Linked DNA regions of Homo sapiens: all the other regions are linked to region 7. Evidence: promoter capture Hi-C in 16 types of primary human blood cells and fetal thymus (Javierre and others, 2016). All regions are on one chromosome and are shown on one strand. The core of a region is centred on a gene start or on the middle of the fragment in contact, and the rest is flanking DNA. Distances in the headings are between cores, read along the strand shown.

The links. Contacts are between HindIII fragments. The CHiCAGO score rates a contact against its expected background, and 5 or more counts as called.
Region 1: a contact is called between the fragment with the promoter of CATSPER3 here and the fragment with the promoter of HNRNPA0 in region 7, in 1 of 17 cell types (naive CD4 T cells). The highest score is 5.6, in naive CD4 T cells.
Region 2: a contact is called between the fragment with the promoter of PFDN1 here and the fragment with the promoter of HNRNPA0 in region 7, in 6 of 17 cell types (fetal thymus, total B cells, naive B cells and 3 more). The highest score is 22.9, in fetal thymus.
Region 3: the fragment with the promoter of APBB3 here is called in contact with the fragment with the promoter of HNRNPA0 in region 7 in 9 of 17 cell types (naive CD8 T cells, total CD4 T cells, fetal thymus and 6 more); the score reaches 21.9 in naive CD8 T cells.
Region 4: the fragment with the promoter of IGIP here is called in contact with the fragment with the promoter of HNRNPA0 in region 7 in 3 of 17 cell types (naive CD8 T cells, total CD8 T cells and fetal thymus); the score reaches 9.9 in naive CD8 T cells.
Region 5: a contact is called between the fragment with the promoter of CYSTM1 here and the fragment with the promoter of HNRNPA0 in region 7, in 9 of 17 cell types (total CD4 T cells, naive CD8 T cells, activated CD4 T cells and 6 more). The highest score is 15.0, in total CD4 T cells.
Region 6: a contact is called between the fragment with the promoter of MALINC1 here and the fragment with the promoter of HNRNPA0 in region 7, in 10 of 17 cell types (total CD4 T cells, naive CD8 T cells, activated CD4 T cells and 7 more). The highest score is 20.9, in total CD4 T cells.

What each region holds. Positions count from the first base shown.
Region 1 is chr5:134,965,938-134,969,360 of GRCh38, forward strand. CATSPER3 (cation channel sperm associated 3) reads left to right here and starts at 1,970. Exons shown (of 8, transcript NM_178019.3): 1 at 1,970-2,152. The coding sequence starts at 2,055. The HindIII fragment of the contact is 4,293 bases long and covers 1-3,210 here.
Region 2 is chr5:140,301,363-140,304,881 of GRCh38, forward strand. It overlaps PFDN1 (prefoldin subunit 1), which reads right to left and starts at 1,739. Exons shown (of 4, transcript NM_002622.5): 1 at 1,679-1,739. The coding sequence starts at 1,711. RefSeq lists an enhancer at 1,476-1,755 and a silencer at 1,644-1,848. The HindIII fragment of the contact is 1,473 bases long and covers 667-2,139 here.
Region 3 is chr5:140,562,461-140,566,191 of GRCh38, forward strand. APBB3 (amyloid beta precursor protein binding family B member 3) reads right to left here and starts at 2,138. Exons shown (of 13, transcript NM_133173.3): 1 at 1,737-2,138; 2 at 1,292-1,455; 3 at 1,134-1,210; 4 at 203-263; 5 at 1-39. The coding sequence starts at 1,785. SLC35A4 (solute carrier family 35 member A4) reads left to right here and starts at 2,368. Exons shown (of 3, transcript NM_080670.4): 1 at 2,368-2,398; 2 at 3,413-3,511. LOC131768270 (SLC35A4 upstream open reading frame protein) reads left to right here and starts at 2,368. Exons shown (of 3, transcript NM_001394034.2): 1 at 2,368-2,398; 2 at 3,413-3,511. The coding sequence starts at 2,384. It overlaps MIR6831 (microRNA 6831), which reads right to left and starts at 1,291; the gene lies at 1,211-1,291. RefSeq lists enhancers at 1,296-1,355, 1,964-2,570, 2,326-2,445 and a silencer at 1,826-2,005. The HindIII fragment of the contact is 4,216 bases long and covers 1-3,289 here.
Region 4 is chr5:140,123,987-140,127,668 of GRCh38, forward strand. It overlaps IGIP (IgA inducing protein), which reads left to right and starts at 1,951. Exons shown (of 1, transcript NM_001007189.2): 1 at 1,951-3,682. PURA (purine rich element binding protein A) reads left to right here. Exons shown (of 1, transcript NM_005859.5): 1 at 1-1,633. The HindIII fragment of the contact is 9,298 bases long and covers 1-3,682 here.
Region 5 is chr5:140,173,927-140,177,477 of GRCh38, forward strand. It overlaps CYSTM1 (cysteine rich transmembrane module containing 1), which reads left to right and starts at 1,262. Exons shown (of 3, transcript NM_032412.4): 1 at 1,262-1,359. RefSeq lists an enhancer at 840-1,069 and a silencer at 1,360-1,649. The HindIII fragment of the contact is 7,638 bases long and covers 1-3,551 here.
Region 6 is chr5:140,106,354-140,109,904 of GRCh38, forward strand. MALINC1 (mitosis associated long intergenic non-coding RNA 1) reads right to left here and starts at 1,659. Exons shown (of 4, transcript NR_102741.1): 1 at 1,056-1,659; 2 at 1-137. LOC124900193 reads right to left here and starts at 2,916. Exons shown (of 4, transcript XM_047417990.1): 1 at 1,431-2,916; 2 at 1-108. The coding sequence starts at 2,632. The coding sequence ends at 1,706. RefSeq lists enhancers at 759-858, 1,969-2,470 and silencers at 1,389-1,458, 1,489-1,548, 1,559-1,818. The HindIII fragment of the contact is 3,432 bases long and covers 1-2,832 here.
Region 7 is chr5:137,752,952-137,756,224 of GRCh38, forward strand. HNRNPA0 (heterogeneous nuclear ribonucleoprotein A0) reads right to left here and starts at 1,412. Exons shown (of 1, transcript NM_006805.4): 1 at 1-1,412. The coding sequence starts at 1,115. The coding sequence ends at 198. RefSeq lists enhancers at 71-762, 172-331, 842-1,191, 1,453-2,144 and a silencer at 1,772-2,131. The HindIII fragment of the contact is 5,253 bases long and covers 1-3,273 here.

The sequences.
Region 1 (3,423 bases), core at 720-3,219, 2.8 Mb before region 7:
GGCACACACTTACTGAGGGCCTTCTGTGTGCCCTAGGGGATTGAGCACAGTGACATATCAGGGCAGGTAGAAACAGATGGAGAGCTGATGCGGGCTGTCTTAGAGCAGCTGCCCCAGGAGGCCCCTGTGGATGGATGTTGGGCAGGAGCCCTGAGACGTTAGGGGCATATAACTAAAGGACATAGCAGGAGTTATAGGAGGAGCTGATCCCTGAGGGAAACAATGAAGACGGAGAAGATGGGGCTAAAGTTTGAATTGTGGGGACATTAATCACAGTGATTCTTAAAACTTTGCTGTTGATGATTTTAAATGGAGAAAATGAGTACGTAAGATGTTATTTCCCAGTTCAGTATATTGGTTGCCCACAAAGTATTTTCCTACCATGAATGGTCATATATACTTGTTGTAGAATACCAGGGACAGCAGAGATGGTGGGGTAGTTACTTCCTTTTCTTACAGCCCAAGAACTTTGGTGTCCAGGAGATTGACCAATTTAGCCACTGAGCATTTAATACAACACAGGGCTACCCAGATCCCACTGTCCTGATTTGCCCTGAAAGCCAAAGGAGTTAGGAGAAGGTGAGTGGGGAGAATATATTAATCCTGAGAGTTGAACAGAGCAAAAATCCCTATTACTTTTGTACTTAAAACATCTCTGCCACATGTGCTCACTCTTTATATTCTGTTTAGGTGGTTTATATGTGCACATCCCATCCTATGCCTGCAGTTAGCCAACTCAGGGTTTATATTGCCTCCTTTCTTTTTTTCTTTTTTTTTTTTTTTTTAAGAGATGGGGTCTCATTCTATCATGCAGACTGGAGTGCAGTGGTGTGATCACAGCTCATTGTAACCTCCAACGCCTGGACTAAAGTGATCCTCCTACCTTGGCCTCTCTGGTAGCTGGGACTACAGGTGCATGCCACCACACCCACCTAATTTTTTTTATTTTTATTTTTTGTAGAGACAGTCTCACTATCTTGCTCAGGCTAGTCCTGAACTCCTGGGCTCAAGTTATCTTGCTGCCTCAGCCTCCCATGGGTAATTTTTATTTCCTTTTTTTTTTTTTTTGGAGATGGAGTTTCGCTCTTGTCGCCCAGGCTGGAGTGCAATGGCACGATCTTGGCTCACTGCAGTCTCCACCTCCTGGGTTCAAGTGATTCTCCATCCTCAGCCTCCTGAGTAGCTGAGATTACAGGCAACTGCCACCATGCGCGGCTAATTTATGTATTTTTTTTTAGTAAGAGATGGGGTTTCACCATGTTGGCCAGACTAGTCTTAAACTCCTGACCTCAAGCGACCTGCCTGCCTTGGCCTCCCAAAGTGCTGGGATTACAGGCATGAGCCGCTATGCCTCGTCGCTGATTTTTATTTCTTATTTTTTTTTTAGAGATGGGGGTCTCACTATGTTGCTCAGGCTGATCTCAAACTCCTGGCCTCAAGTGATCCTCCCACCTTAGCCTCCCAAGTTGCTGGGATTATAAGTGTGAGCCACTATCCCTACCTCACTATTACCTTCTTTGCTTCTCTTGTTTTCTTTTGTTCTAAGTCAAACCCATCACAATCTTTTCTTGTCCTTCCAGGTGTTTTCCAGTGCTGTGCCCTGGATGTGCTCTCTTTCTCTTAGAGCCCAGAGAACTTGCTTTTCCCCCTTATATATGACCCTTAACTTTTTCTAACACATTATTAAGGGCCTGTGTCTATCAGCTGGGGGCACTTCTTGAAGGGAGGGCCTTTGTGTGGTCTGTTTCTAGTGACTTCCAGCTTTAACCCAGAGCCTCATGATTGCTGGGTGCCCATAGCCTTTTTGCTGAATGGAGGCACTCAGTCTCCTTGGGAAGAGAGAATCCATGATAGACCCACTTGGGAGCTCCCCACTTCAGGGGCCTACACACTGGTAATGCAACAGAATGCCCAAGAGTGACCTCATAAAGCAAGGATTCCCTTCGTGGCCCCTTCTCTGCTGCCTCTCAGAATCCAGACGCTAAGGAAAATCCCTAAGCAGAGATTTTCTGTTGGATGCTAAAAGCAAGGAATAAAAGTTGAAAATTTGGAAAATGTCTCAACACCGTCACCAGCGCCACTCGAGAGTCATTTCTAGTTCACCAGTTGACACTACATCGGTGGGATTTTGCCCAACATTCAAGAAATTTAAGTAAATATTATCTATCTCCATTGCCTGTTAAGAAATGTGCTAGTAGAAGTGTGAGGGCAGGGTGTCAGTGTTCTCTCAGCCTCTTCCCTCAGATACTCGTCTGCTTACCAAAATAAGTTGCATGTCCTTGACAATCTGGTTTCTATGATTGGTGAGGCTGGCATGCTATTACCTTTATGTGCCCTGTAGACTTGAATGACCAGTTTGACCAGTTTGACTGTTAGATAATCTGAAGGCTTTTCTCTTTTTTTATAATAGACCCCATCTCAAATCAGATAATGAAAATTACATATCTTGATATATTAGAAAAGTATATACATTCTGGCTGGGCACGGTGGCTCACACCTGTAATCCCTGCACTTTGAGAGGCTGGGGCGGATCACTTGAGGTCAGGAGTTTGAGACCAGCCTGGCCAACGTGGCGAAACCCCATCTCTACTAAAAATACACAGATTAGCCCGGAGTGATGGTGTGCACCTGTTGTCCCAGCTACTCAGGATGCTGAGGCAGGAGAATCCCTTTAACCTGGGGGGCGAAGGTTGCAGTGAGCCAAGATTGCACCACTGCACTCCAGCCTGGGTGACAGAACGAGACTCTGTCTCAGAAAAAAAAAAAAAGAAAAGGAAAAAGAAAAATATATATTCTATATTTTTTTAACTTATGAGAATGTGTTCATTTCATTTGTAACATATAATGGGAAACAGTAATACGTACTCTGAGAAAAATTGCAAAGCACAGATAAATGGAAATAAACAGGAAAAAGAATCACCTATAACCTCACCATCCATAGACAGACACTGTTAAAATTTTGGCATATTTCCTGCTGATTTTTTCTACTGCTGATTTTTGCACAGGTGAGATAATTTTGAACAGAGAATTTTGTATCTTTGGTTTTTGTGTTTTGCTGCACACAAAAACAAAAGATATAAAAATGGATCATAAACATTTTTCTAAATCCTGAAAAATGCATAGACATATTTTAGTGCCTGTATTTCACAAGATGGACATACCATAATTTACTTACACAGTCCTTTTTGTTAGATGTTTAAGTTGTTTTCAAGCTTCTCAGTGCTGGAAAAAATACTGAGATAGACATGTTTAGTTGAAGTTATTTCATTTCAGGTTATATTATCTTGGGTCAGAGAATGAATGGTTCTCAGGCTTTTCAAAAGAGCTGGTCAGTTTTTATGCCTCTGGCAGTTTTTGAGAGTGCTCAATCATACTACACTGTTGCCAGCATTAGATCTTATCACATTTAAGTCATTGCTAATT
Region 2 (3,519 bases), core at 489-2,988, 2.5 Mb after region 7:
TACACTTACTTAACTGGAAGATAAACAGTTCTTGGATACTTTTGTTGAAGTGCCTGGAATGACTTTCACATGCTGTTAAATTTGTGCCTTAATAACATCTGTGACTGCAATGCACAGCAAAGGCTACTACATAATTTTTATTGTGACCTTGTTTTCACCTACTAGTAAGGTTTTGAAAGATTTACTTTGGGGAAGGGGAGGGGCCTGAAATTTCCTATTTGTCTCCACCCAAAAAAAGGACCCTGTAAAAACATTAGAAGATAAAACCTTTAAACAAGTTTTTTAATTAATTGGTTATCAAAATTATTCATTTTAAGTTTGTAATCATTTTCTTAGTTTGCATTCACCGCCCGCAAGTTTCAAATGTAGCAATAAATTCAAAAGTACCGGGAGGCAAATCCATTCACTAAACCCTGATTTAAATCGGTACTTTTAACAGAAGAAAAGGTAAATTTTTAGAATGCACAATTTTGTTTTGAAATGTAAAATTCCAGGTATCATCTGACTGCTCTATACAGCTTGCTAAGGAAGCTAGTATACCATTAAAGATGAGCTAGTATACTGTTAAAGATTAGAGACTCCACCTAAGAGCTAAATTTACAAGATTCAAGACAAGAAGAACAAAAGCAAGACACAAACACATAATATCCTCACAACACTAACAAAAGCTTCATTTGTTAGAAGCAACAGCTATTTCGGCTGTCCTATTTCTTTTACACAAGTTGACCACAGGCAGTCTTAACTAAGATGTTGCTCATCTGAAGAACTCAAAATAGTGGTCAAAAAAGTGTGAGATAAGGCAGAGAATACTGGATTCTAGTCCCAACTTCTGACAGACTTTTCTGGCACTGGTTCCTTTTCCAGAAAAGTAGATTTAAAATAGATAAATTCTAGGGTCCTTTCCAATCCACCCCACCGCACAAAGCATACTGGTTTGGGGTCATTAGTGGTGTTAGAATGCTGATCATTCTTAGATAGCAAAAATCTGAATAACAACACATTTATAAGCAACTGAGGAAAACAGGAAACCCAATTCCTTCCGATACCGGTTTTATTTGGAAAACTTTACTGGTTTTGTTTTGTTTTTGACAATTCCTTCAAAAGAAGGAGGTTTTGTTTTGTTTTGTTTGACGAGTCCTTCAAAAGAAGTGGAGGGGGGGCAAAATCCTGAAATGAACATTGCTGCTACAATGCTTGGTTTTCCGAACTGTAGATATTGCAACTTTCAAGGTACAGAACCGAATAAATGGCCTAAAAACAAAGGTTGGACTTGGAGTTTTTCAAAGCAAATGAGGCAGAATTACGGATGCCACAGCTCAGGCAAGGGGTCCGAAGGGACCCCCATTTGAAATGCTCTCTTTAGTTCTTACTATGAAAGTGAGTCCCTGAAGCCTCCAAACGCAACGAAATGTCTCTGGAGCTCAGAAAGACTGGACAAGCCCGAGACAGGCCCGCAGACTTACCCGACCCAGACCAACCGGCTCCTACCCAGCAAGAGCCGCTCGCCCCCCACCCCGTTTATGGAGACCCAGTGAGGCCTTAGGACTCTGGGAAACCATTCCCTAGTCCACTGGACCCTCCTTCCTTCTGCAAGGCTCGTGCCTCACTTGATATTCTTGTCTATAGTCCCCTCAGCCTCCAAAAAGAAGACCTCCGCCTGCCAAAGACCCTCTTTTACCTTCTTCAGCTCTAGATCCACGGGGGCGGCCATCTTGGTGCACTGTAAGCGCCTGCGCAGTGGGAGTTGGACTGAAATAGGGTGGGGAAGGGCGCGTCTTACTTTGTGCGCCGGTCTTTCTTCTGCGCCTGCGCATGAGTTGGACTAACCGGGCTTCTTATCTTTCTCTGAGAATTGACTCCTGAAATATTTGGGTTTCGGATTCCGTGTCTTCACTACCTGACCGGTCAGGTCTGGCTTGCTCCTCCGTATCTTCCAGACATAGCCCAACGCGCAGATTTCCCATGTGGCTTTAAGCAGTTTGCCAGCTAGCTTAATATGTGCTGCTAAATTGAGATGTATGTAGATGAGGTCAAACCCTCATCAGTCGATCAGTCCTTCAGCTAGTCGCTGTGCTCTCAGGAATGAGTAAGAGTAAGTCCAGAACCTCAGGCATGACAGTTTGGGAAAGACTATTGGAAAGCTTGTCTGGAGTGTTCTTTCCAAAACGAACTTATTACTTCCAAAAGCTTCCCAAAGACATTCTAGGCACAGTGGTTCTCAAGAGAGGCTGAATACGTTTGTTTAAAAACAAAAAAATGCAGGTTCTCTGGGTCTCATCTCAAACGTACTCAGAATCTTTGAGAATGGGGTCTGGAAATTTGCACTTTTGCAGACTACCCCAGTGACCTAATGGTGCAACTCCTCCGCGGATCACTTTTTTGAGAATCTCTGCCATAAAAGGACCTGGCATTTGAACCAGAATAGATAATAATTGACTTTTGGAAATGGAAAAAAAAGTTAACCTACTCTAAAAACTGTTATGCTAAGAGAAAGTGCTACATAAATAATTAGGAAATTTATTTTATTTTTTAAAAAAAGAAAGAAAGAGAGAAAGAAAACAAACTGTTAGGGAGATGAAAGGGCAGGGAATTTGGAACCAGCCTAATCTAGATTCAAGGCTTGGTCTGCCTTTAGCCTATGTCTGGTTCCATTTACTAATTGTGTGACTTTAAGCAAGTCACTTGGATATTTTGTGGGGTTTTTTTTTTTTTTTGTACGTTTGTTTGTTTCTTGAGACAGGATCTTGCTCTGTCACCCAGGCTCGAGTGCAATGGTGCAATCACGACTCACTCCAGCCTCTACCTCCCGCGCTCAAGCGATCCTCCCACCTCAGCCTCGTGAGTAGCGCTGGGACTACAGGCGCGCGCCACCCACACTCAGCTAATTTTTATATTTTTGTACAGACGGGTTTTCACCTTGTTGCCCAAGCTGGTCTCAAACTCCTGAGCTCAAACAATCCGCTCGCCTTGGTCGCCCAAAGTGCTGTAGTGCTTTGATATTAAAGGCTTGAGCCACCGCACCCGGCCACATTTTTTTTTTTTTTTTTTTTTTGAGCCAGGGTCTCGCTCTGTCACCCAGGCTGGAATGCAGTGGCACGATCTCGGCTCACTGCAACCTCTGCCTCCCAGGATCAAGTGATTCTCCTGCCTCAGCCTCCCGAGTAGCTGGGATTACAGGCGCCTGCCACCACGCCCGGCTAATTTTTGTAGTTTTGGTAGAGACGGGTTTCACCGTGTTGCCCAGGCTGGTCTCCAACTCCCAGCCTCAAGTGATCCGCCTGCCTCGGCCTCCCAAAGGGCTGGGATTACAGGCAAGCCACCACGTCCAGCATCTGCCACCTATTTTTAATGAGCTTCAGTCTTCTCATGTTTGAGAGTGACCATATTGACCTAACAGGGTTATTGTGAGAAATAAATGAGATCAGGATAAAAAGCTCCAAACATAGCTCCATGCACACAAGTAGATACTCAATAAATCACTGGTGTTAATCGCCGTCCTGTTTGTCTTTCAAAGTCCAG
Region 3 (3,731 bases), core at 888-3,387, 2.8 Mb after region 7:
AGGTACCTCTACCCAGCCCAGAGAGCGGACTGCAAAGCACTGACAGGTTGGGGGAAGGGACAGGAATTAATAAGGATGGAGTAGGGTGGCAGGTGCCACAATACATACTCCCTGTCTTCACCCTTGATCACCTCTGTTCAGTCCAATCCCACCCTTGTCTTTCCCTTGGGACCTCCCAATGCCCTCAGGCCCAAGTCACTACCTTAGCCCCTGGCTCCATGCTCTGGATGTAGGATTCCCCACCATACCAGGACAGAGAGTTACTGAAACAGAGCAGAGCTGTTAAGAGGACCACATTTCCTACAGTAGGGACACTGGTGAGGCCTAGACAACTTGATAAGCACAGGATGAGGGGCAAGACCCAGAATATAGCACCAGAAATATAAAACCAGAGCAGGGTAGAGCCCAGGACATATTAACGTAACATAAAGTGTGACTCAGAATTTGAGGGAAAATTCAGGACATAGGACCCAGACACAGGACATAGAATAAAAGTCACAAGGCTAGGTGCAGTGGTGGCTCACGCCTGTAATCCCAACACTTTGGGAGGCTGAGACGGGTGGATCATGAGGTCAGGATATCGAGACCATCCTGGCCAACATGGTGAAACCCCATATCTACTAAAAATACAAACATTAGCTGGGCATGGTGGCATGTGCCTGTAGTTTCAGCTACTCAGGAGGCTGAGGCAGGAGAATGACTTGAACCTGGGAGGCGGAGGTTGCAGTGAGCCAAGATCGTGCCACTGCACTCCAGCCTGGATGACAGAGTGAGACTCCATCTCAAAAAATAAAAAATAAAAGTCACAAAATAGAACAGGGTCCAATATGTGGACCAGAACCCCAAAGTGGGACAAGAGACCCTAGAACAGAGGACTTAATGGCCAAGGTCTAGAACATGATAGGTTAGGACCAAGAATATGAAAAACATGTAGCTACAAACAAGAGCTTAGAACAAGGGATAAAACTCAAAATACTGACAGTTAAGAACCTGGGACAGAGCCAAGAACGTAACAGAACCCAAAACATGTGACAGAATCCAGAACCTGGGCTGGAAAGCAGACCATGGGTCCAGCTGCATTTTTGAACACCATGGAACCCCAAGCCTTTCATTTTGCCTGGGCCACCCGTTACCTCCGGTCCAGTGAACTCTCCAGGCTGGAGAAGGATCTCCCTTTGGGGGGCCGCAGTCCCCAGATCCCCTCCGTTCCCTGTAGAGTGGGAGTTAGTCAGTTTAACAGCAGACCTAGGTCCACACATGGGCTCAGACCTCCTCCTCACACTCTACCTACCGTGCCTGGGTCCTCTGCATCTCCTAGTTCCCAGGTTGGGCGCTGCCACTGGGTGCTACCGCTGGGTACATGCCAGTAGTAAGTACCTGCAGCATCGTGGATCTTCCTCCAGCCAGGAGGCAGGCCAGCCTCCACCTCCAGACTGTGGTCCCCCCACAAGTCATCTACAGGAACACCGGATTAGAGAGGAGGGAGCATATGATTTGTGAGTTCAGAATAACATGCTGTCATAATCCCCTCTCCATCCCCAAAATGGGTCAGTTCTTAGGCTGAAGATCCAGGCTCCTCAATCTTGAAGACATCACATGTAAAGACCGGGTTCATTCGCCCCCTGGTCCCTACACAGAGAGGTATCCCCCACCGTCTTTGAGCCCCAGAGTAGCCTTTCGGATTCCCTCGTCCTCCCTCAGCTCCTGGTCTTCCCACCGGGCCCCTCCGTGCACACCATCGCAGTTGACCAGAATGATGGCCAGCATGTAATCCTTGCCCAGCATAACCCCGGCTGCTCCCCGCCAGCCTCTGCCGGCCCGCACTCTCAGCCCAGCGCGACCTCTGGAGCTACTGCGCCTGCAAGCCCAGCCTCTCTGCGCCGCAGGCTGCGGGGCCAGCTGGCGCCGCACAAATACGGGGCGGGACACGGGGCGGGACACGGGCCGGTCCCGGGGGAGGGCCTGAGCCGCACAGCCCGCCCAGGGGTGGTGCGTGTAAACGGGCGTCTGGATCCCCGAATGGTTGCGTGTTTCCGTGTGTGGGTCCGGGGGAGGCCCACGAACGCCAGCGAAACCGCTGACACCACCGCCCAACTATGAACTCATCAGGCGCCTGAAGACCGACACGCCGAACATGCGCCGCGCGCACTCGCGCACGAGTGAGATCATCGCGCCCCGGTCGTGAGTGCGCTCACACGCAGCCTGAGACTCGACGGGAGGGGGTCACGTGGAAGTATCTGAGAGAGGCGTACTTGGCCACTAGGAAAGCACCTCCCCCTTTCCAAAAATGCTCCGGAAGTGCCTTCGCCCTCCGTAAAGATGGCCGGGGCAGTCGGCACGAGGGAGGCGGGGATGCGCCTGCGCAACAAGTTCGGCGGGGAAGATGGCGGATGACAAGGTGAGTGGCCGTGGGGGTGATCTGCAGCCGGGCGTGGTCTTCACTCTCCTTGACCTTTTTAGTTCCGGGGAGAAGCGACTCTGGAGCGGCTCAGGAGTGAGGATGTCCCTTGTTTCTTCTGCGGCTCCTGTCAACTGCCTCAACAGTGTGGAGTGGTGTGGGGAGAGCATTCGGCGAGGCGGGAGGAGCCGTGGATCCCCCAGATGTCCCCTCCTGGGAACCATCACGAACCCGTTACTAGCACAGACTCAAAAACATTCACCCTTAAACACTCCTCACTTTACCCCATTCCCTAGCTCCCGAAATTTTCTTCCCAGTGACACGATGTTTCCAATCACACGGACACTCACACCACCCTCATTCAAACACTCCTTTGCATACATTCTGAATTTCATACTTATATGCGATCAAAATCACTCAGTCCATTTACTTACACACTTGCCGACAGTCTTTTTTGTCATTCTCAGTCACATCCAGTCACTCACATTCAGTTTGGGATGTCCTTGGGAAGAAAGAGGTAAAGCCCATCCAGGAACCAAGACAATAAAATTGTCCAGGAAACTGCCTCGGTCCATTACTCACCATTGGTCTAGAAGCTCAGCATTACCCACACATTTACTAAATGTCAGGCACTAGAACATAGTAGCCAAGACAGACTGGTCACGACTTTCAAGGAGCTCATAATGGAGTCAGTAGTGGTTTCCTGATGGACCTAATTAAAGGTCCCTAGCTGTCCCTCCTGCCTTTCCTACATACTGCTTGCTATATAAAATTCTTGTCAAGGTTGATGTAAGTTACTGGTTCAGATCCCATCTGTCAGTCCCTTCCTGGCCCTCATTTGAATTCTGTGCTTTTCAATGCTTGTCTTTCTTTGCCACTGCCATCTCAGGAAGCTTTTATAGGAAAAGGTCTTTCTGGCTCACCCCATCCCCTCCCAATTCCCAGCTTCTGATGGAATTGAGCAAGGGGTGGGGCTTAGTCAGACTGCTGGAGCCAGCCTCTCGCTTGTCCTAGGATTCTCTGCCTAAGCTTAAGGACCTGGCATTTCTCAAGAACCAGCTGGAAAGCCTGCAGCGGCGTGTAGAAGACGAAGTCAACAGTGGAGTGGGCCAGGTAAGGACTGTCCCACCCCACCCCTGCCTTAGGCTTTATTGCCCAACATGCTCTTGAGAGTGTTAAATGGATGGTAGAGATTTCTTCAGCAAGTGATTATTGAGGGCCTATTCTCAGTCACCCTAAGGACAATTTTTCTGAATGGCACATGAACTAATATCTTAAGTAGTGGTTAAGTAGGTGAAGAGGGGAGGAAAGAACATTCCAGGCAGAACAGCAT
Region 4 (3,682 bases), core at 701-3,200, 2.4 Mb after region 7:
GGTTGAATCACTTTGAGGGGGAAGGGAAGCAAGGGCAAGAGACTTTATTTTAACCAGATGCGGTCTTATGACCTCAAAGATGTGCTCTAGAAAGAAAATAACAAAAAGTGTACCTGTGAACATATTTTTTGTCTTGGTGATATTATGCAACACAGTGTTCAGAATTGCAAAAAAATTTAAAAATTGATAGTTTTATCAATGGAACAGAGAGATGTGTTTTTGGCTAAAATTATTTTTTGTAAGTTATTTGGTTATTTCATTTTATATTCCCTTTCCCATAGCTTTGTACACACCTCATACTTAAAACCAAGTGAGAGGCCTCTTTTCAGATCTGGTTTATTTTTGGAATGCCTGAGTGTGTTTCCAGATTGGGGGGGGAGAGGTGGTGTTTTACTTTTTGACATGCTCTTAGCATGTTTTGCTAGTCATTCTGGATCTTATGTTTGCAAATTCTGTTGAACATTCAGTGATGTATTTGAAATGAGAAAGTCCTTTATAACATAGTGTGAATGTTTGTGGCCAATTCAATTGTGGAATCTTATGGCTTTGTTTTTACTTTGGGTAGAAGTTTAACTTCCATTGTTCAGATTTTAGGTTTATCTAGTGAAATTGTGCCAGGTAGTTGTCTAAATATGGACCAATTTTGGGAAATGAAGATTAATAAGTGTATATTTGATTCTAGATAATCCTTTACTCAAAATCATAAGTTAAAGATTCACATCATTAAGAGTTATCTAACTTTTATGTTGTCAAATCTTTAAATGTGGATGATATTCAGCATTCTATCTATGAATTTCCTTTAGGAAAAGAGAAAAATTCAGTCTCCAAACCTTTTCTTGGAGACAAAATTTACCACATATCGAAAATGAAAAAAATTTAGAAAGCGATTTGATTATTTTTTAATGGAGTTTAACCAGCTTAATTAATGATTTTTCCAGTTTGAAGCACTTATTTTCCCAATGTGAATAAAGGGAAAAGATCAGCAATTTGTCCCTGGCCTTTTTCGAGGCCATTTTTAGTTTTCTGCCCCCATTTCCCAGTCCTGGTATAAAATGAATTACGGGTATCCCTCTAAGTCCCTATAACCCTTTTTGGGGGTCACAGATATCTTTGATAATCTGATGACAGTGTGATGGATCCTCTACCCAAGAAAAAAAAAATGCCCATCCCTGGATAATTTTGCATACAACTTCAGGGGCATCACACATCTTCTGAAACCCAAGTTAAAGATCTCTGCTCTAAGTAAATTGTAGAGAATTTTAGTGCAAATCGTTGATAAAATTAGGAACCAACTATTGGCTTAAAACCTTTCATATTGGAATTATTGTTAGATGGTGGCCCCTACTAGCAAAATGTGACATTGCAACCAGCTTCGTTAGACATTATAACAACCAGAGAGAAGGGAAAAAAGCAAAGTTCTGAAAGCTATTTATAAGGAGTCAGGGCATCTCTAGACATGGGAGCCTTCCTGGTTCAAGGCAGGGGTCAGGGTGCCTGACAATTTCTAGCAGGGTAGAGTTTGATAAACCACAATGCTCAGGATGCCAAGGGGTTAGCCATTATCTTAACCCCTTCCTCACCAAAAGATTTTAGTTTTGTCTGTTGGGAAACAAGATGTCACTAGGGAAAAAAAGATTTGCCTTACAACTTTGCTGGAACACATCAGTTTGGTGACGTTGGGACACTAGTGTTATTTTTGAGAAGGCGCATAAAACCAAAGTAAATTATTCTCTATGTAGAACATTTATTTACTAGTAACATTTGTTTGCGTGTATTCGCTTTGACAATTTTTACCAGTAAATATTGGTTTTATTTAAAACTGGGAATCCAGTTGATATATAGGATAGTTGATACATCTGTTCTTTCCCCCATGTAAAGCATAGTTAAAAGATTTATGCATACTTTTTACTTTTCTCTCTTAATGCCATGGGGTGGGGAGGGTGGGTGGGGGAAAGATTTTTGAGTCTACAACTGACAAAATGTCTTCTTCAAATTAAAAAAAATTGAGAAGCAGCACTTTAAGTCTAACTCTACACCATTTTATTGCATGTATTAGTTTTATTAATGATTTTTGGTGCATGCCTTTGGGCTTATTCAAAAGTGTACAATAGGAAAGTATATTTCCTTTCTTAGAAAGGAGATGTTTTCTACTTTGCAACATGTGATTACAAAAATCTTCCTCTGTGGGAAGATTAACCATGTATTGAACTACTGAAAAGTATATATTTTTAGATATACAGAAGGAATCTACATGGAGCAGCATTCAGACCTATATAGAAGTCATAGCATTCTGTATAGGACCAAAAAGGAAATAACATTAAACACTTAAACAGACGTTGTTGGGTAGAAATACCTTTAGATCTTGCATTTACTTCCAAAAAGAAAAAATGCCACAGAAGTTTGCTGAAAACTTTTGTCGTTTGAATTTTCTCTGTCAGTGTATTTAGCCCAAATACAACAGCTTTGGGTTAGCACACACATAAGAATCAAAAAAACAAAGCTCACTAAATAAATCAGTCTGGTTTGCCAATCCAGCTTGACTGAAATAAGTAAACCAATCACTTGCAACATGAAAAACTGTCCAACTCCTCTAAGGTTCTGACAAAATAACCTTGGCTGATGTGGGAAGACTCCCACTTTGATTACTGACCTGACAGTGAAGATTCATGCTTGACATGATTTCAGACTTGACAATGTCTGTTTAAGGAGCTATGGTACAGTTTGCTAATTCAATCCCAGATACCTGTTGATTACCTGTGAGATCTAGAGTCCAAAGTAGCCAGCAGCCATATCCCTGAGTGCTCTGTGCCCATCAGATATCTTAAAGTAAGCAGGGTTGGGACAGGTCACAGCTTGGATGATTGACCTCAGGTGCCGTAGACAGCCCCAGATTCAAGAATTGTATCTGCTTTCTTGGCAGTCGTCACTGAACTAATGTCCCATACTGTGTTACTTACTGTAGATGCTCTCTTTTAGAGGAGGCCCAGAGCACACATCCTAATCGCTAGCGGTACTCAGAGAGGGGGTGCTAACTCTGATGCCCTGGCCAAATTCCAGTTTAGGGATGTGGGTCTTCTTCTTGTCATTCTAATTGGAAATGTGCATCACTTCCCATTTTTCTTACTGATCTCAGTGCAAACTACACTAGTCTGTTTCTTTGCCCTGGTCTCAAGTCTCTAAGACGCTGGTGTGTATTATGTGGGCTAAGTTCATGTGTTATCCTAAGGCACAAGAGTTGAGGAATGGGTGAGCTTGGTGTCAGAGCACTGTGTGGTTGGAGGGTGGACTCTTGTGATGCTGTGGGGATGAAATTGGCCCTCTTTTAGCATAAGTTGGGGAGTGTGCACTGGCTGGAGGCTTCCAGAGGCTTCCAGCCATGAGGTGTGAGCTGAAACCAATTTTTCCTCTTTCCTTATAGCATGTTGAGAAAATCTGTTGGGTTTTCAGCAGTCAGGGAAGGCCGGAGTTCTGCTTTAATCTGGGTAACTGAGGCTAATATGAGCAAGACTTTGGTTAATTAACTGGGTTCTCAGATGCCACAGACTCCGTGAGAAGTCACCATTATTTTCAATGGTTGTGATAGAATTTCCCCCAGTAGCCATTATTTTAAGATTATATTGCAGAGTTGCTTTATTTTGAGCTTTTTGTGTATACACAATCCCAAACTGGAAGAAATTTTAAA
Region 5 (3,551 bases), core at 12-2,511, 2.4 Mb after region 7:
AAAATTAAAAAGTGCCACTTAAATACAATGATTAAGTCATAATAAACAGTACAAGTTGTACTTATGTGAGACATACCACCCATACACGTTTGATCTTCGAGAACCACATCTCAATCTGCCCATGGCCCATTGCCTGACACTAAAAGATGCTCACAAGAAGTTGACTATAAACTAACTTCTTGGTCTAAGATCCTAAACTCTTGAGAGGGAAGGTTTCAATACATATGAAACCTTCTTGGCAGTGCAGGGATGAGGAGAGTAAAACTGAAATGAAAGTCAGCAAATAGTGAAGGTGTGAAATAGGCAGTGACTCTCACACTGAGACCTCCAGGGGATGTTAAATTTTCATTTCGAAGCTGATAGTCTTATCTGGGAAGCCTAGAGAGTAACAAAAGTTGTAGGCATATACTTATATTAGAGTGGTGCAAAAGTAATTGCTGTTTTTGCCATTTAAAAAAAAAATGCAAAAACCACAATTACTTTTGCACCAACCTAATAGCAAGCAAGGGGAGGAATATGGAGAGAAAATCAATTTCTAAAATGAAAAATAAAAAATTTTTTGCAAGTAGGACTTGCAAGCTCATTCTAGGCCTTGCTCTGGGAGCTTTTCGGTAACTTCTCTTCCTGTTGGAACAGAAGAAGGAAACCTTCAGGACAGAAGATTCTGTCCCCCTTCCCCCTCCTGATGTGAATGAAGTCTCATTACACTCTAAAGTACTGGCGGGACTACTTGTTGCAAGGTTTATGGGGAAAAGTAGCCAGAGAGCAATCCAGTTATCAGCCTCAGCCCCATTCCGCTCAGGTACAGCTCGGGAAGTAAGCCCCCAACCCTAGTTGGGTCTGGACCAACAAGACACGAGGAGGCAGCAGCCCACAGCCGACCCCTCATGCCACGCACTGAGCAGGGTTCCGCATGGACGCTGGTCTTGCCTCCCAGGCGCCTGAACTAGCGGAGTTGGGGTATCGGGTGGAGTCTCGGAGAACCAATCCAATCTGAGGGGGACGCCTGTGGGAGTCCTAAGTATCCAGCGCAGCTGGGAGGCCCACGTTGGGAAGTCGGAGACCGACCCCGCCTCCCGACTGCGCCGACTGCAAGAGAGCGCTTCCGGCGGCGCTTGGAGGCCGAGCAGTTGGGGGCGGGGCTCGTGCTGTGACGCAAGCCTCGCCTCGCCCCGCGCCGCGCGCGTTGCCAGGGTGATCAGGTGACTCCCGGTTCGCGGCGCTGGGAGCGGCCGTGACGTCAGGCGCCCGGCTGCTCCTCACTTGCTCTGAGACAGGTGCGGCAAGTCTACTGCGGGCTGGTCCGGGCTCCTCAGGTTCAGACCCGACCGTTATCCAGTCGGTTCGTGGAGAGGAGAGGTGAGGTGCAGCGGACCTGGCCCGACCCAGCTGGGACCAGGGCGGGGATCAGGCACGGACAGGGCGCGTCCCCGGGCTCCCTGGGGAGCGCCCTGAGAACTGGGGGGCACCCGGGCTGGCCTGGCTCAGGCAGGGGTTCGCGCAGCCCCTGGGGAGGGGCAGGGAGGCAGGGAAGCTGCTGCCGCCAGCTGGATCCCTCCCGGCGCCCCGCGGCTACTCTGGGGCTCCTGGTCGCCGCGCCGCGCGTCTCGGCGGTGGACTCACAGGGTCTCCGCGTCGCTGCGGTTCTCGTCTCACGAGGAGTCGGCGGGCTCGGAGCGGGGCTCGCCACACCCCGTCCCGGGGGACGTCCGCGGGAGGCTTCTGGATTTCTTCGCCTTGGGCTGCGATTTCTGAGGCGCTGCTCTGCCTATTCCGAGCTGGGCCAGCCGGGGGCAGGGGGCAGGTCGCGAGTCCCGCGGGTGGGAGCGGAGCGGAAGTAACTAGTGACTGGAAGTAACTAGGGAACGCAAAGCCGGCGCTCGGAGGCCGGGGTGTTCAGAGAAGGCGTTGCGGGGGAAAGGAATCCCGGCTGCTGTTGAGAGCCGTGGATTGGGATCTGAGCGGACCTGTTGGAGGAAGTGAAATCTGAGCGGGGTCCTGACGGGTGGGAACTAATCTCCCGGTAGCAGTGGAGGTTGCAGGGGGGAGAGAAGGAGGGGAGGACCCCTGGGGAAGGAGACCATGAGGAAAAACGATTTGGGGACTGACTGGACCGTCTGCTGGGCTGTTTTGGGGGAAAAAAAGTTTGGAGAATTAGGTTAGGGAGGATTAGGAAAGGACCCTTGAGTGCCCACCTGAGAGGCACTGTGTGCTGTGGGGAGCCATTGAAACGTTGGCTAGATTGGGGTAGGGGGAACACTGAGGAAGTTGGTGTGAGGGGAACACTGAGGAAGTTGGTGTGACATTCCGGCAAAAAGGTGACAACACTCTTCTCTGATGGGATTCCTCAAACCCTGCTTATGAAATACTTGTAACCGACAAGGGTAGGGGCTCAGGCAGCCAGGTGCCTTTTTCAGCCATTGTTGGCAAATTTTTAGAAATTAAACAAAAAATAATTGTACATATTTATAGATTTATACAATATGATACATGTAAACTTTGTGGAGTAACCATGTTAGCAGATTTTTAAAAATTCCTTTTTATGAAAGGACCCACCCAAGGGCAGCTCATTTTCGAGTATCTCATTTGACGGGATTTAATGACTGGTTGGGAGCTATGCCCCCCTCAGTATGCAGGGAGATTATAGCGTCCACAACACTTTGCCCTTCAGAGGTTTCAGAGTGACTTACAAACACCTTGTATCCCTAGGGTGAAACCCAAACCCCAAATGACTGGTAAGAGATTTAATAGGGGGAAGTTATTAAAGGAGAACCAGCATCCAAACATTCATGTGGGGCATTGGATTCGCTGAAAGGAGTCCCATACTATTTGTTGATTGTAGATCAAAGATCTCTAGACCTGGCCTGGTGCGGTGGCTCACACCTGTAATCCCAGCACTTTGGGAGGCCGAGGCGGACGGATCACGAGGTCAGGAGATCGAGACCATCCTGACTAACACGGTGAAACCCCGTCTCTACTAAAAATATAAAAAATAAGCCGGGCGTGGTGGCGGGCGCCTGTAATCCCAGCTACACGGGAGGCTGAGGCAGGAGAATGGCGTGAACCCGGGAGGTGGAGCTTGCAGTGAGCCGAGGCTGCGCCACTGCACTCCAGCCTGGGCGACAGAGCGAGACTCTGTCTCAAAAAAAAAAAAAAAAAAATCTCTAGTCCTTTCCTGCCAGCTTTGAGTTTCTCCGTGTAAGGCTGCGTAAGTGTTAGTTGGCTATTTTGTCTTAATTTCCTGAGCAACAGGAAAAATATATTTTGGTTATATGAAGAGGAATGCTTTGGTAATTTATGATTTTTCCCAGCCCTGAAATTTATTGGTGCTAGGACCAAAAATACACAGCTGTCTATTTTATTTTATTTATTTGTTTATTTTTGAGGCGGAGTCTTGCTCTGTCGCCCAGGCTGGAGTGCAGTGTCGAGATCTTGGCTCATTGCAACCTTTGCCTCCTGGGTTCAAGAGCTGTCTATTTTATATTGAAACTTACCAAAGTCTGTTTTCTGGGAGGTAGTGAAATTATTTTGTATTTCTTTGACTCCAGAAA
Region 6 (3,551 bases), core at 409-2,908, 2.4 Mb after region 7:
AACTGTTTCGCAATCACTTATTTCTGAGCTTTAATCCTCTGTGCCAGATAATTTCAGACTCAAACCTTTTCTAGTCCTCTGCGATTCTTCTCAGCCATCAGGCACTGCCTACAATACGTAAGAGGCAGCAAAAGATACTTGGAAAAAAACAATTGAGAGATTTCTGGTTTAGTGAATAAAGCAGGCAATAATAGACCTTAGAGTTTTCCCTTTATCAGTGATAGACTCCTCACAATGCTGAACAACTGACTTACATTTTGATAACTAAATTTTCATCTGTAAAATGGGAGTAATTATACCTTAGTCCTACTTGCCTCGCAGGCTCAACTAGATATGCTTCTGGGAAAGATTCTCTAACAAGTGAGTTTAAAAGTCTACCACTGCCTAACAAAGAGGGATTTTGTGGTATATTTGCAAAGTAACTTCAAAACAAAATAGTTAAATAGGTTGAGGCAATGATTAAGTTTTCCTAAATCACAGTTTGACTTCTCGGAGGTCTATTTAAATAATGATAAAGATGATAAATGCAGTTTTTATTTTGCTGCAGTTATTAGCTGATCCACGTTCCATCTACGTATTCAGTGTTGCAGGATGGAGACGTGACAGCGTAGAAAGCGAGCAAAAGCGTTACCGTGCACCAAAAATCTTGTCAAACTTGATACGATTTCAAGAAGACTGTCTTAAAGGACATTTTATAATTTCACATTTAGCCCTTGCATAGCATTTTATGAAAATTAACTTTTACCCTTTCCCCCTCGGCCCAAGGAAGTCGCATTCCCTCAAAGGGGCCCGGCTTCAACATATTACACTGCGTGGGAGGCTGGGCAGCAACCCCACGCTTCCTGTCAAGGATTCCTGGGGCCAGAGCCTGAAAAGTGCTCTAGCCACTCTTCTCTATGCTAATTCTGTCCTTCCGACCCCTCTTGGCGGGTGTCTGAGGGCCAAGGTGAGACTTTCCCCGGAGATGAAAGGCCTATTGCCTCTTCAGAGACCCGGGCGGAGTTGGGGCGGGGGTGCCGCGTGATAGGGTGGTAGCAGAAGTCGCAACGACGCACAGGGCCCTAAGTTGGAGCTGGCGCAGGCCCTTCAGGGTTCTATCCCCGCCAGAGCCTGGCTTCGGCCTTCAGAAGCCAAACGAGTAATAGGTCCTTCTGGGGCGCTGTGGGCGGTGGGTGGAGGAAGTGTGGGCGGAGAGGCCACAGACATCCCCCTCCTCAGACGCGCCCCAAGGCCTGGCCCGCGGAATGTTGACGCGCCAGGAGCCGATAGGGCGCGCTCACGCGCGAGAAGGGGGCGGAAAGAGCGCGCTCGGCGGCCGCCGCGGCGGCAGCTAAAACGGAGGGACGCGAGAGCGAAGGGCGCGAGCCACGGAGTTGGGAGGAGGGGTGGGGAACGCGGAGCGCGCGCTGACGTCGCCTGGAGTCACGCACGGAGCGCCGGGTTACGCGCCGACGTCTGGCTGCCACGACTTGCCGTCTGCGGCGGCGGCGGCGGCGGCGAGCGGATCCCGCAGGGGAAGGAGGAGGAGGAGGGAGAGCCAAGGGGGCTGTGAGTGAGCGGGAGAAGCAGGGTGTGAGCCGGACTTGCCCATGGGAGGGAGAGCGAGCGAGAGCCGAGCCAGCCATCCGAGCCGCCTCCTCCTCCTCCCCTCGGCGTCCCGCCCCCGCCCGCCAGCCCGCCCTCCTTCCTCCTCAGCCCGCAGAGCCTAAGTGAGGCGCAGCTCGGCTAGCGCCGCTGTCCAGGACAGGTGTGCGCGCGCGCGCCCTCCTCCCCTCCCCCCTTCCTCGCGCCTGTCTCGCGCGCGCCCTCCCTCCCGCCAGCCTGCGCCCTCCCTCACCTGCGGCAGGACAGCGCCCGCCCGCCCGGGTAAGCCCCTCGCGACCTTCCCTGCTGCCACTGCCACAGCTCCAGGTGACGCTCGCCCCGTCCCCTTTACTTGCTCTCTCAGCCCAGGAATAATTATAGTACCATTGCAGACATCCCCGCACCCTCCCTCTTGGAGACCCAGGCGGTGCAGCAACGTTCTCTCCCACCCCCCGCAGCGAGAAACGAATGAACCCCCTCCTACTTTCAAAAGAGAACAAAATAACACGCCCCTTAAGAAAAGAGGCGATCCTACCTCCGCAGGCGCTGGAGACCACCAGTGATGCGTTTGCTTAGCAATCCCTGAGCCCCATTTCCCCTGGCCGCCTTCGCCCTGGGGCCTGGGACTGTGCGCTAGACGTGGCTGACACTCCCTGCACGGCAACCCTGGAAGGAGGGAGAGGAAGGAGAGTTCTATAACCCAGGCTTCACTGCCAACCCCTCCTCTGTTCGGTTCCCCCCACCCCACTACCACCAAATGCATACACCCGCCCAGGATGCGTTGTAAAAACAAAACAAAACCAGGAAAAAAAAAAAAAAAACCTTTGGTGCTGACATCGCAGATGAAGCCGGGCCCAAAGATGGGTGGCCCGAACAAGGCATTTTTACTGCCCCACAGCGCTGGGTCAGCTCCACAGCTCCTCTGCCTTTGTCCGAGGGCAAAAGGAACGGATGTGAAGCTGAGGGGTCTTCTCTGTGAGCGGCGGTGGGCCCCGGAGGCGGGCTGTGATGTTTGTAGGGGAAGGCACCCAACCAATATATCTGCCATAAACCTGAACTTGGGTTGGAGAGCCCCCAGAGACTGGCTGGGGTAACTGGTTCGTAGCTGTCTACCCCGGAATAAATGCCACCTTCTTTTCCGCGGTGTCTGCGGGACCCTCTGTTGGGGGTTCTAATTCGTTTTGGCCTGGGCTCCTTACATTTCTGTCCGGCCAGGCGCTTTTGGACAGCTTTTCGCAGCGGTGTCTAAGCTTGTGTTCGGTGTCCTTGGAAGGGAGGTCCCAGAGCTTTACAATAGGCTGGATTTGGTTTGACATCTTTTGGTGGACTGTCAAAGGGGAAAGGAAATTTTTGGATTACTTCAAGATCCCCCACCGCCCCCGCCCAACTGACGTTTGCGAATTGCGGCTTTGGAAATTGGAGTGTTGACTAGAGTGTGGAGAGAGAGTTGCTGATTTCATTGCTTTGAGTACTAGTAAAACCATTTAAGTATCAGCCGGAAGGGAGACAGCTATTGACATTTACATCGGTTCTGTTTGGACCTTTGGGGTACATAAAATGTCGGGTTCTCTGAATTTTTTATCGAATTTAGAATGTCTGCTACATTTATTTAACTTCTGCAAATGCTTAAAATGAAAACATTTTGGAAATGCGAGGATTTTTATCAAGTGGATTGTTCTCTTCATATATTAAATGTTTACTTCATATCTTTAATCCGAAACATTAAAATAGCATTGAAGAGGCATGATTTTCAAGATTAAGTGAGCTATGGAAAAGGAATACGCTTTTAAAGAACGATCTGGGAAATGCTGTTACTATTAGTCATTGTTGTTGTTAAATGTTAAGATTTATTTGAGAGTTTCTCAATTTTTTTGGTAGACAGTCATGAGAAGAAATGGCTAATTCCTCCACTTTGAACATTTACAGTACAACATCCCAGTTAGTTTTAATGATTTGGGTATTGAAGA
Region 7 (3,273 bases), core at 162-2,661:
CTTCAGAGGGAGAGACAAGAGAGGTGGCAGGCAAATAGAGGAACACCCCCAAGGGTAAGCAGCCTTAGAAGTGGCTCCCCCAAGGGCAAAACAGGGAAGGCGGTGTGTGTGAGGGGGTGGGGCTTAGGAGTTGACCCCACTTGGGCTGTTGGAAAGAGCTACCCCTATAGCCACTCCCAGGCATTTTAAATTTTCTTTTAGAAGGAGCTGCCTCCATAGCCACCCCCACCGCCATAGCCGCCTCTGTAAGGTCCACTATTACTGCGACCGCCCCAGCTACTGCCTCCACCGCCGCCGCCGCCGCCGCTCTTCATGGGCCCATAGGAGGACTGATGCTGGCTGTAGCTGCCGAAGCCGCCGAAGCCGTTACCGTAGTCGCTCCCACCGTAGGACGAACCGCCGCCGCCGCCTCCGTAGGCATTGTAGCCGCCGCCTCCGCCGCCGCCGTAACCACCGTAGCTGTTGTAACCGCCGCCGCCGCCCTTGGAAAGGCCGTTCTGGTCTCGACCACCGCCGCGCCCCCGGCCGCCTCGGCCGCCCCGGGAGGATCGGGAGCCGCCTCCACCCCCACCGGAGTAGATATCCTCCTTGGGGACTGCTTTCTTCACCTCCACGCGATGGCCCTGAATCGGATGGAACTTGACCACCGCGGCCTTGTCTGCCGCGTCGTGATTCTGGAAATACACGAAGCCGAATCCACGCTTCTTGCCGGACTGCTTGTCGGCAATAATCTCGGCCTTTTCCACGGTGCCAAACTGCGAGAAGTGCTCGATCAGGTCGCCCTCAGCCACGTCTCCTTTAAGGCCTCCGACAAAGAGCTTCTTAACCTTGGCGTGGGCACCGGGCCGCGCCGAATCCTCCCGGGACACCGCCCGCTTCAGCTCCACAGTGTTGCCGTCCACGGCATGGGGCGAGGCGGCCATGGCGGCGTCCGCCTCCTCCACATTGGAGTAGGTCACGAAGCCAAAGCAACGGGAGCGCTTGGTCTGGGGATTCACCACCACCACGCAGTCCGTCAGAGTCCCAAAGGCCTCAAAGTGGCCGCGCAGGCCCGACTCACTCGTCTGCACATTGAGGCCGCCGATGAACAGCTTACACAACTGAGAATTCTCCATCTCCAAGGCCCGGGCCTTGCCCCCGCCCTGCGAGCTCCGAGGTTTCGCCGTCGCCGCCGTTATCGTTGGTTAAGGCCTCTACACAGCTTGGGCCCAGCCGTTGCTGGAGCCACCCCCGCCGCTCACCGACGGGGAAGGGAAAAAGGGAAGGGGAGGGAAGGAAGGAAGAGAGGAAGGGGGAGGGAAGGGGAGCGGTGCCGGCTAAAGGGCGAGCCGAGGAGACTGGAAGACAACCAAGGCCACCGCTACCGCCGCCGCCGCCACCTCCGCTCCCCTATCTGGGCACCACACAAAGAGGCCGCTGAACGCGCGCGCACCCTCCCCGAGGCGTGCGTCACCGCCGACGTACGGCAGCCTAGGGCTACCAGCCAATCCCCGCCTCGCTCCCCTTAATCCCGCCTACCGCGCCGCAGCGCCGCTCTAGATCACGGACTCCCCGCCCTCCGCGGTCTATTCAAGCCCGCGGCCTGTGCCGCTCCCGCTTCCGCTTCTGCCAGCCCACTTTCATTCCCGAGCGCCCCACTGTCCCTTGACATGGGTCCCTCCCTGCCCTCCGCGCACCACCGCGATTCATTTCCTCCTAGCACCGCGGCTGTTCCCAGTGTTTCTCCCCCTCCCCTTTACTCATCCCCTCGCCCAACTCCGCAGTGGCGTTCGCGCCAGCCCCTTGAGAGACATCTGAGTTCAGCCAATCACCGTGATCCCCTCGCACCCACTTCCGTTTTCGGCAGCTGTTGGACGGGCGCGCTCCCCGGTGCGCGCTTGCCCCGGCGCCCCCGGCGTGCAGAGCCGGCCTACCACCCCCGCGCCTTCTCCCGCCCAGGGCTTTGCCGGGGAGAGAGCAGGGGGCGCGCTGGGGGCCATTCCCAACGGATGCGGTCTGGGGCGCCACGCGCGGGCTTTTTGAAAACTTGACTGTTGGGGTTGGGGGCCCGGATCTACCCGCCGCCTCTCCGCTTGTCCGCTACACCTGGCGTCCCCGCCCCACCTCCCGCCCGCACAAAGATGGAGGGCAGAGGCCTGGTCCACGAAGGCGGTTATTAACCGTTTACAGTGGGCCCGACGTGCGGTTAAACTAAAACTTTGCCACGTGGCCCTGCGCAAAAGCGAGCCCGAGGCGGCGGTGTGAAAGACAACAGGGAACCAAAAGAACTTCAGACATTAGGAACCAGACGAGGCGCGACATCCCTGCCTCCCTGCCACCCTCCCGCCCTCCTTGAAGCCCTCCCACGATGCCCTCTCAGAGGAGGCCCTTTCAGGTCCCCTTGGCACACTCCAGCAGACATTTTCATTTAACCTCAGTGAATGGTTTTTTATGTGTAATTTACATCATCTATGTGTTGCTTTCTTTGAACTAGAATGTTAGCTTTTTTGTTGTTGTTGAGATGGAGTTTCACTCTTGTTGCCCAGGCTGTAGTGCACTGGCGCAATCTCGGCTCAGCAACCTCCGCCTCCTGGGTTCAAGCTGTTCTCCTGCCTCAGCCTCCTGAGTAGCTGAGATTACAGGCGCCCACCACCACACCCGGCTAATTTTTGTATTTTAGCAGAGATGGGGTTTCACCATGTTGGTCAGACTGGTCTCAAACTCCTGACCTTAGGTGATCCATCTGCCTCGGCCTCCCAAAGTGCTGGGTTACAGGCGTGAGCCACCGCGCCTGGCCTAGAATGTTAACTTTGCTTTTTTTTTTTTTTTTTTGAGACGGAGTCTTGCCTAAGCTGGAATGCAATGGCACGATCTTGGTTCACTGCAACCTCCACCTCCCGGGTTCAAGCGATTCTCCTGCCTCAGCCTCCCAAGTAGCTGGGACTACAGGCGGGCACCACCACACCTGGCTAATGTTTGTATTTTTAGTGGAGACGGGATTTCACCATGTTGGTCAGGATGGTCTCAAACTCGTGACCTAGTGATCTGCCCGCCTCGGCCTCCCAAAAGTAGAATGTTAGCTTTTTAAAGATGTTGGGTTAGACGAATGTTTTACAGAGAGAGAGATCATATACCCCTAAGTTACTGCTTTTAGTGCCCTCACTCAGATGGGAATGGAAGAAAATTACAATGGCTTCCATTTATTGAGCCTTTGTGTGCCAAGCAAGATAAATGGGGTGGGACATAGTTAATATGAGGCATTACGTGACCAAAAGCCTCCAAAACCATATGGTA